2 separate regions of the Homo sapiens genome follow, and region 1 is linked to region 2. Evidence: promoter capture Hi-C in 16 types of primary human blood cells and fetal thymus (Javierre and others, 2016). All regions are on one chromosome and are shown on one strand. Each heading gives the region's core, a stretch centred on a gene start or on the middle of the fragment in contact. The rest is flanking DNA. Distances are from core to core; before and after follow the strand shown.

Region 1 (3,741 bases), core at 1,083-3,582, 210 kb after region 2:
CCCACTTCCCATGCTAATCTGCCGCTTCTTGGACGGTGAGCGATTTTATTCCTTTTCTTTCTTTTCATTTATCTGTGTAAAAAAACATTGTTGAAGTGAGCACCAACAATGTACTAGGCCCTGCATTTGGCACTGGGGATATCACACTGAACAGTGCAGACATCTTCCCAGTTCTCACAGAGCATCCGAGCTTATTCTGACAAGTAACAGAAAGTAACTCTAGGAGTTGATGGAAAGAATATTGGGGATGTAAAGTAATTTGGAGTGGGTTGTAAAACCATACTTGCAGAACTGTAAGAACCAAGACAACCCCAGAGGCCAAGACCAGGACATATTTCAGCAAGAACAGTCTGGCCAAAATGCCACACCCCTGCTCCGTACATCTCACACTATCCTTGGATCCTGCTGAAGCCATGCAAATGGTTCCCAATGGTTCCATTTGTTTGTATCATTGTAGATTAATTTCTCAGGTGGGAGCATGCACCTAGATACTGCTGACCTAGGTCAAGGTGCCCGTTTTCTGGCTGCCAGGTGGTATGGGGAGGGACCTTCTCTCCTACATGGTTTCTGCAGTGGGAAGATGGGTGTTGAGTCCCTCCAACATGACACTGAATGGAGGATTTCACCCAGAAGACACAAGCTCATACAGTTGACTGACATTTTTAACTCTGGTTATAACCTATGGCTTATTTACATAATATCAACTGTAACATTTGGGGGTGTTGTTCTTGCTGTCTTTCATTGCATTTGATTAAATCATATCAAGGATTCAGGTCATTTCTCCCTAACTGATATTTCATTTGTTTTCATACTTCTAGGTGCTTTTTATTTCTGGTGGAAGCATTGAGTATTGGTGGAACTGAATACTAAGCTGTCTGGCAAAGTAGAAATCTAATCTCCAGAGGCTCAGCTCCAGCATCATAAAGAAAAGTATATCCCCAGAGTCAAAGCATAAAGGAAAAGAATAGGTGTATGGATTTGGACAGAGAGGAAACCATATACATATGCCTAATGATTTATATATTGGTTTACTCATTACATTAAAAAATAATAACAAAGGACTGAGATTAACCTCAGTTAATAACAAAGGACTGAGATAGTCCTTTGATTATTCATCAAAGAGGGACAGATCAAATAGATTTTCAGATATCTGTACAAAAACTGCTATCTAGGTGTATAAAAAATGAAGACTACCTTTATGTATGAAATAATCTCCAAAAGATATTGTTAAGTGGAAAAATCTCTCTTACACCATTGTTCCAGTCTAGCCTGGTTGGTCCATATGGTGACTGCACAGGTATCTGGGACTCCTCTTTACTACTCTTCTGAATCTACTCTTCCTGGGTCCTAAGTCTTACTCATTCTTCAGTCGTTTCTCAAGAAGTGATAGATAGGAAATTAAAAGCGAGTTGAAAAACAGTGCATACAGTATACTACTATTTGTGTAAAATTTGTGGGATAATGCATGTGAATTTCATTATGCAGTTATGCACTGCATGATGATGTTTTGGTTGATGACAGATTGCACATATGATGGTAGTCCCCTAAGATTATAATGGAGCTGAAAAACTCCTATCCCCTAGCAATGTCATAGCCATCAAAAGGTAAAGACATAGCACAATGCATTACCCACATATTTGTAGTGATCCTGGTGTAAACAAACCAACTGTGCTGCCAGTCATATCAAAGGATAGCACATATTATTATGTACAGTACATAATACTTACTAATGAATGACTGTTACTGGTTTATGTATTAAGCTTACTATACTCTTTCATCATTATTTTGGAGTGTACTTTTTCTACGTATTAAAAAAAATTAACTGCAAAACAACCTCGGGCAGGTTCTTCAGGAGGGATTCCAAAAGACGGCATTGTTACCATAGGAGATGACAGCTCCATATGTTATTGTCCCTGAAAACCATTCAATGAAACAAGATGTGGAGGTGGAAGACAGTAATATTGATGATCCTGACCCTGTGTAAGCCTAGGTTAACATGTGCATTTGTGTCTTAGTTTCTAACAAAAGCATTTATAAAGTAAAAATGTTACAGTAACCTAAAGTTAATTTATTATTGAAGAAAGAAAAATATTTTAAGATAAATTTAGTGTAGCCTAAGTGTAGAGTGTTTATAAAGTCTACAGTAGTGTAGAGTAATGTACTAGACCTCCACGTTCACCTGCCACTCACTCACTGACTCACCCAGAGCAACTTCCAGTCCCACAAGCTCCATTCATGGTAAGTACCCTATACAAGTGTACCATTTTTAATCTTTTATACCATATTTTTACTGTACATTTTCTATGATTGGATATGTTTAGATACAGCAATACTTACCATTGTGTTACAATTGCCTACAGTACAAAGTACAGTCACATGCTGTAGGAGTTTGTAGCCTAGGAGTAAGAGGCTGTACCATGTAGCCTAGGTGTGTGGCAGGCTGTATGATTTAGGTTTGTGTAAATTCACTCTGTGATGTTTGCATAACCACAAAATCACCTAACAACACATTTCTCAGAATATAGTCCTAGTCTCTAAGCAACATAGGACTGTATATGAATAAAATATCACTGATAGCATTGATAGTAACTGGTAGCACTGGTTGCCTCCAGGGAGGACAGCTAGATGGCTGAGAGACAGGGGTATAAAGGAGACTTTCCTCTGCATATCCTTTTTGAATCTTTTGAATTTTGAACCATATCATTGCATTATGGACTTAAATCATTTTAAAAAAAACCCCACAATACTAAGAAGCTGCATTTTCCTTACAGAATATATTAATTCTAAATATATATATATAAATATATATATAAATATATATGTGTGTGTATATATATATATATGGAGCTAAATTTAGGCAGAGGTGGTGGTGGTGATAAGAGAATGTGGTAAAAGAAAGCTTTCCAGGGGAAACAACATCCAAGGAAGAAACAGCGGTGAAAAGCCTAAGACGGAAAAGAGAACGTGTGGCATCCTAAACAGTGCTTTCCTCAAGAAAAATATCTACTGAAATGAGAACATGTTCATGATAGCAAGAGATATAAAAAACCAGAGTAAAAAATTTCCCCTGGCTCAAAGAATCAGCAGGAAAGGTTTTGAGATGTGTGAATAATGTAGAATCATAGACCACAGCAAAAATTACCATGTGGGAACTACAGGTGCTGAACACTTTCAGCTGATGAGATGTGGAGGATATCGAAGAGGATCAGGGCATAAGAAATGAAACTAATGAAATGAAGCTAGGGGCAAGAATTCAATCTTATTTATCATTTTCTATGGTCCTATTAAAAACAGATCTCGGCTTTTTTTTTTCTGGTCTTTATCACCCTATCACTAAATATATGCAGTTGCTTCTTGATTTTTCAGTGTTAGGCCTAAATAAAAAGTCAACTGGTTTTCAGTTTAGGATATCAGAATTAACTTCATTTTTTACCTCCCTTCAACACAAATATACTTTCTGTTCTCTTTATCCTCCCAATACAGTTTATTTTTTGTAGTTGGATTCATATTCAGTGTTTACATAATTATAAGAATGTAAATGCTTTGCTTATGTAAGTACTGTAATGTGTTTTGATCATTTTTCTTTCACTACCTTTGTTCTTTCTAGAATAAATAATGGTTTTGGTTTTTCATTCAATTTTCTATGTACTTATAATAAATTCATCTTAACACTCTCTCTGTTGTTTAAATCATCTTTCCATACTTACAAAACTTGGTGTTCGAAAGCAAATATACTTAACT
Region 2 (3,929 bases), core at 649-3,148:
TTCTACTATGGACAGGGTATAGCTATGTAATTTATTATCCAATCCGGGACATCTTTGAGTGAAAAGGGGGTACTATTAATGCTTATGCCAGAACAATACGGTGAACCAGGACTGTCCTGGGCAAGCCAAGATTAATGGTCACCCTAATTAGTATAGCCTTTGGCAAAGAAAAAGGCATACTGCTTAAATCCTTATATGCTTAAATTAAATACTATAAATATGAAAACTGTCTATTCCCAAGTGCCTCAACTCTTGAAAAACTTACAAAGCCAGTCTAACCCAAATAGAGAAAAACTGGACAGAACAAAATCAAATTTAGTGTGTAAAATTCTTAAACTTCACAATCTACTTATACGAATTCAAGTATTATCTTTTTTCTTTTTTTTTTTTTTTTTTTTGTAAATGATGACTCAATCTATCTCCCAAGCACCAATCCTGAAGGGAATGCTGAATCTGAATGCCCCCATAGGTGGAACTTCAAACTCTCAATGTTCAAAACAACATCGCTTTTTCTTCACAAAATCTTCATTATGTATTTGATGGAACCAATATCCTTGAAATAACATAAATTCCAAGCTTTAGGTACCTTTGACGTATAGGGGATAAAAGAAAGGGAACAGTCAATCAGATGCTAAGTTCTCTTAGTTTTACTTTTCTTGTTTCTCTCCAGTGCAAATAGCAAGCAATACACATAGCAAGTGCTGAATAAGTGCTTTTGGAATGTGTATTCTAATTTCTGAACCTTTCCTTATGCTTCCAAAAATGCTGAGAGACGTTCAAGCTTTTGGTAGAGAGAAGAGATGAACTGTTGACTTGGATGTGGGGGGACATTTGAGGACTCCACCCCTATTTCCAAGCACTGAGGCAAGCCAAACTATTCTAATATAAAGTTATGGCTGGCAAGCTATATTAAGTTTATTCACTCAATAAATCCAGTGCTTCTACAATAAAAGAAAGGAAGAAACACTTGGAACACTCAAAGGTTAGAGGGGGGAAATTACTGACAGTTTCATGTACCTCTTTGGGCAAAGGGTCAGTTATGGGGATTTGAGGTGCTCAGAAAATAGTCTGTGTACTGGAAGTCATAAAACGGAATCAGGTTTATCTAAGTTGGAGTCAGGGCTCTGACACAGTACCCTTGGGCAAATCATCTCTCTGGGCTTCAGTGTTCTCATTTTACAAATAATGCCTAATTCTCAGGGCTGTATCTCGAGAATCAAACACATTTCCTAGAGTCCTGCAGTAACAACGATGACTAAAATTTATTGGTATGTCTTTTACGCACCAAGCACTTTTCTTTACTCATTTAATATTCATTATTCTGCAAGACAGTTACTAGCTCATTTACAGATGAGGACACAGAGAAATTACGTAATTTGTCCAAGGACACAAGGCTAACAAGTAGTAACGTATACGGAAAAGCCAACACTGTATTAATACTGTCACACTGGGAAGGGGGAACAGCTTGGGGAAAGATTTTGTGAGGGAGTCTCCAGGAGGGGACCGGCTGAACGTGGGTCAGACTCACAAACACCGTGGCCTTGGCCGCTTTGCGCAGCCGCAGGTACTTCAGCCGGTACTTCTCATTCTGGCTCTTCTTCGGGAGCTTTTTCATCCTGGCCTTGCTGGACTGCAGCGGAGCCCGCGGCGAGGAAGCGAGGCCGTCCAGCAGGCTCATGGTCCAGCCCCGCTACGGGGGCCCCAGGACGCTGCCGGCATCGGATCCTAAGTCGGGGAGCGGGCGGGAGCGCTGGCTTTGTCTGTTCCGGGCTAGCGGAATCGGGCCTCTAGGAATCTAGCTCTCCGGGACGTTCCCAGGGCTGACCGCAGGGCCAGAGACACCCGCAACCGAACGGGCTCCCGGCGCCTCCCAGCACTTCCGTGTCTGTCTTGGAAGTAAGCCCTTCCCGGAAGTTACGTCCCGGTGTCGGCAGTGTGTAACTTCCGGGGCAGGGAGAGTAGGGTGGTCTGGGCGGTGCGATCGTGGGCACCGGGAGGAAAGAGACAGCTGGGGGCTAGTGCTGGATGAGGAGAGGAGGGAGGGCCGGCGGCCGTGTGCTTAGCTGAAGGGTACTATAGTTGAACCAACGAACTAACAAGAAGCTTACCAATGCGAGCTCTCATTCACGCTCCCCCGCTGGGCCACTGCGTTTTAATACGTTTTTCATGCTTCGTGCAGACAGGCTTTCCCAGACTGTAGGACAAAGTGAGCCCAAGTGCTGGGACTCTGCTTCTTTCCCTGCTTCGTTCCTTTCTGCAGCTCACAGAAATGTGTTTGCAGGGCCTCCTAATGCTATCATCTTCCCAGGAGCTGGGAACACAGTAGTGAACAGGAAGAAAGGCCTTGGCTCTTTCTAGTAGGGAAGATGAGAGATTTAACACGCAGTTTTAATACTAGCACTAAGTAGGCACTCAGTAAATGTTTGTCTAGTGAAACCAGAAGTGTATTTCTGTACATAATATGTACATGTATATGGTTCTAACTTTACAACCAAGGTCTATTTAAAATTAGGGAAGATAGAAAAATCTTTAGGGTGCGGTATTGGTAAGTGACCCAGGCTGGATGGCAGAAGGCTTGCTTGCATCTTCTTCCAGCGATGCCAATAACTAGTTCAGTAACTCTCTAGTTTTTTCTCTCAAAAAAAAAATTTGCTGTTCTGCTGTATTTTGTCCTTGCGGGCTTTGGGGTCTGACTTTATTTGTATTATTTATTTTCATATACATGTATCACATCTAGGGGGAAGAAAAGTGCTATCCTTTGTCCTAGTTTGCAGGCTGTTTTGGCCAATGGACTTTAGTGGGATTTGCATGAAGATATTTTTTGTTTCTTCTTCATTGGACACATTTCCTTACACTTACAAAACATTTCATTCGAACTTTAGAAATTTAGAAAATATAGTACAAGAAAGGTTTAAAAATCCATAATGCTACCACTTGGAATGAACTACTTTTACCATGTTAGTATATGTGTCTAATATTTTATGCATTTTTGTATAGGTTAGACAATACTGAAAATAAAGTTTTCTTTTTGTTCATTTACCATTGTATCATTTCAGTTTCACAAATGTTAGTATAGCTTCCTTATAAGCATAATTTTAAGTGGCTGGTTAATATTCCAGTTATGGCTATATTATATTTTGCATAATTATTTCCATGTTCTTTGACTTTTTGGTCAATTCCATTAAAAGCATATCTTTGCGTCCAAAGCTTTTTCCATATAGGACTGTTCAGAGGCTGGATATGTGTGCTCCACAAAGGTCATGCCACTGAGCAACTCATTCAGTCCTTATTTGTTTAGAAGAATATTTACCTAGTGCCTATTATGATACCACCTTTAAGAACCTTAATTTAAGAAGGAAAGACAGACAAGTAAATTGGCAATGTTAATATGGTATAATAAGTTTGTTTCAGAGGTAGGTTTTATTTTATTTGGCAGCACTCAGGGAAGGAGGGAGGAGATAGGAAAGGTTTCTTAAAGGAGATACATCTGGGCAGACTCTGAAGGAGAGGTAGTGGTTGGTTGGCCCAGTGAAGAACAAAGGGGGGCATGCTGGATGGTGGAGACAGCATATGCAAAGGCTCAGTATGGGAACTGCAAGTAGTTGATCAGTGTGAAAGATGTGTGTAGAGAGAAGCAAGAAGAGAGACTGAAGCAGTAAGTAGGGTTTTTTGGGTCATGAAAAGTCTTGTGTACCAACTGAAGAGTTGGACTTTGACCCAGTGACAATAGGAAACCATCTATCAGCTCTTTGCTTGTGTTAGGTAAACTTACCTGAATCTGTCAGAAGCAACACAACTTTTCTACTTAACTATACGAAGAAGGGTCTAAATGGCCTATGCAAAAATTCTTTAAAGAAATGCATAATGTGTAGCTCTAAAAAGAAATATAAAATGGCAGACAGCATGATATTGTGTCTGAGTGTGGTCTT

What was found. Contacts are between HindIII fragments. The CHiCAGO score rates a contact against its expected background, and 5 or more counts as called.
Region 1: a contact is called between a fragment that was not itself captured here and the fragment with the promoter of TBRG1 in region 2, in 2 of 17 cell types (megakaryocytes and M2 macrophages). The highest score is 7.3, in megakaryocytes.

Annotation. Positions count from the first base shown.
Region 1 is chr11:124,410,781-124,414,521 of GRCh38, reverse strand. No RefSeq gene overlaps it. Among named protein-coding and RNA genes, the nearest start is that of OR8B4, 12 kb to the left of the region's middle. The HindIII fragment of the contact is 1,139 bases long and covers 1,763-2,901 here.
Region 2 is chr11:124,620,833-124,624,761 of GRCh38, reverse strand. It overlaps TBRG1 (transforming growth factor beta regulator 1), which reads right to left and starts at 1,898. Exons shown (of 9, transcript NM_032811.3): 1 at 1,529-1,898. The coding sequence starts at 1,678. It overlaps LOC124902779 (a long non-coding RNA gene), which reads left to right and starts at 1,561. Exons shown (of 2, transcript XR_007062932.1): 1 at 1,561-3,929. RefSeq lists an enhancer at 1,752-1,821. The HindIII fragment of the contact is 1,322 bases long and covers 784-2,105 here.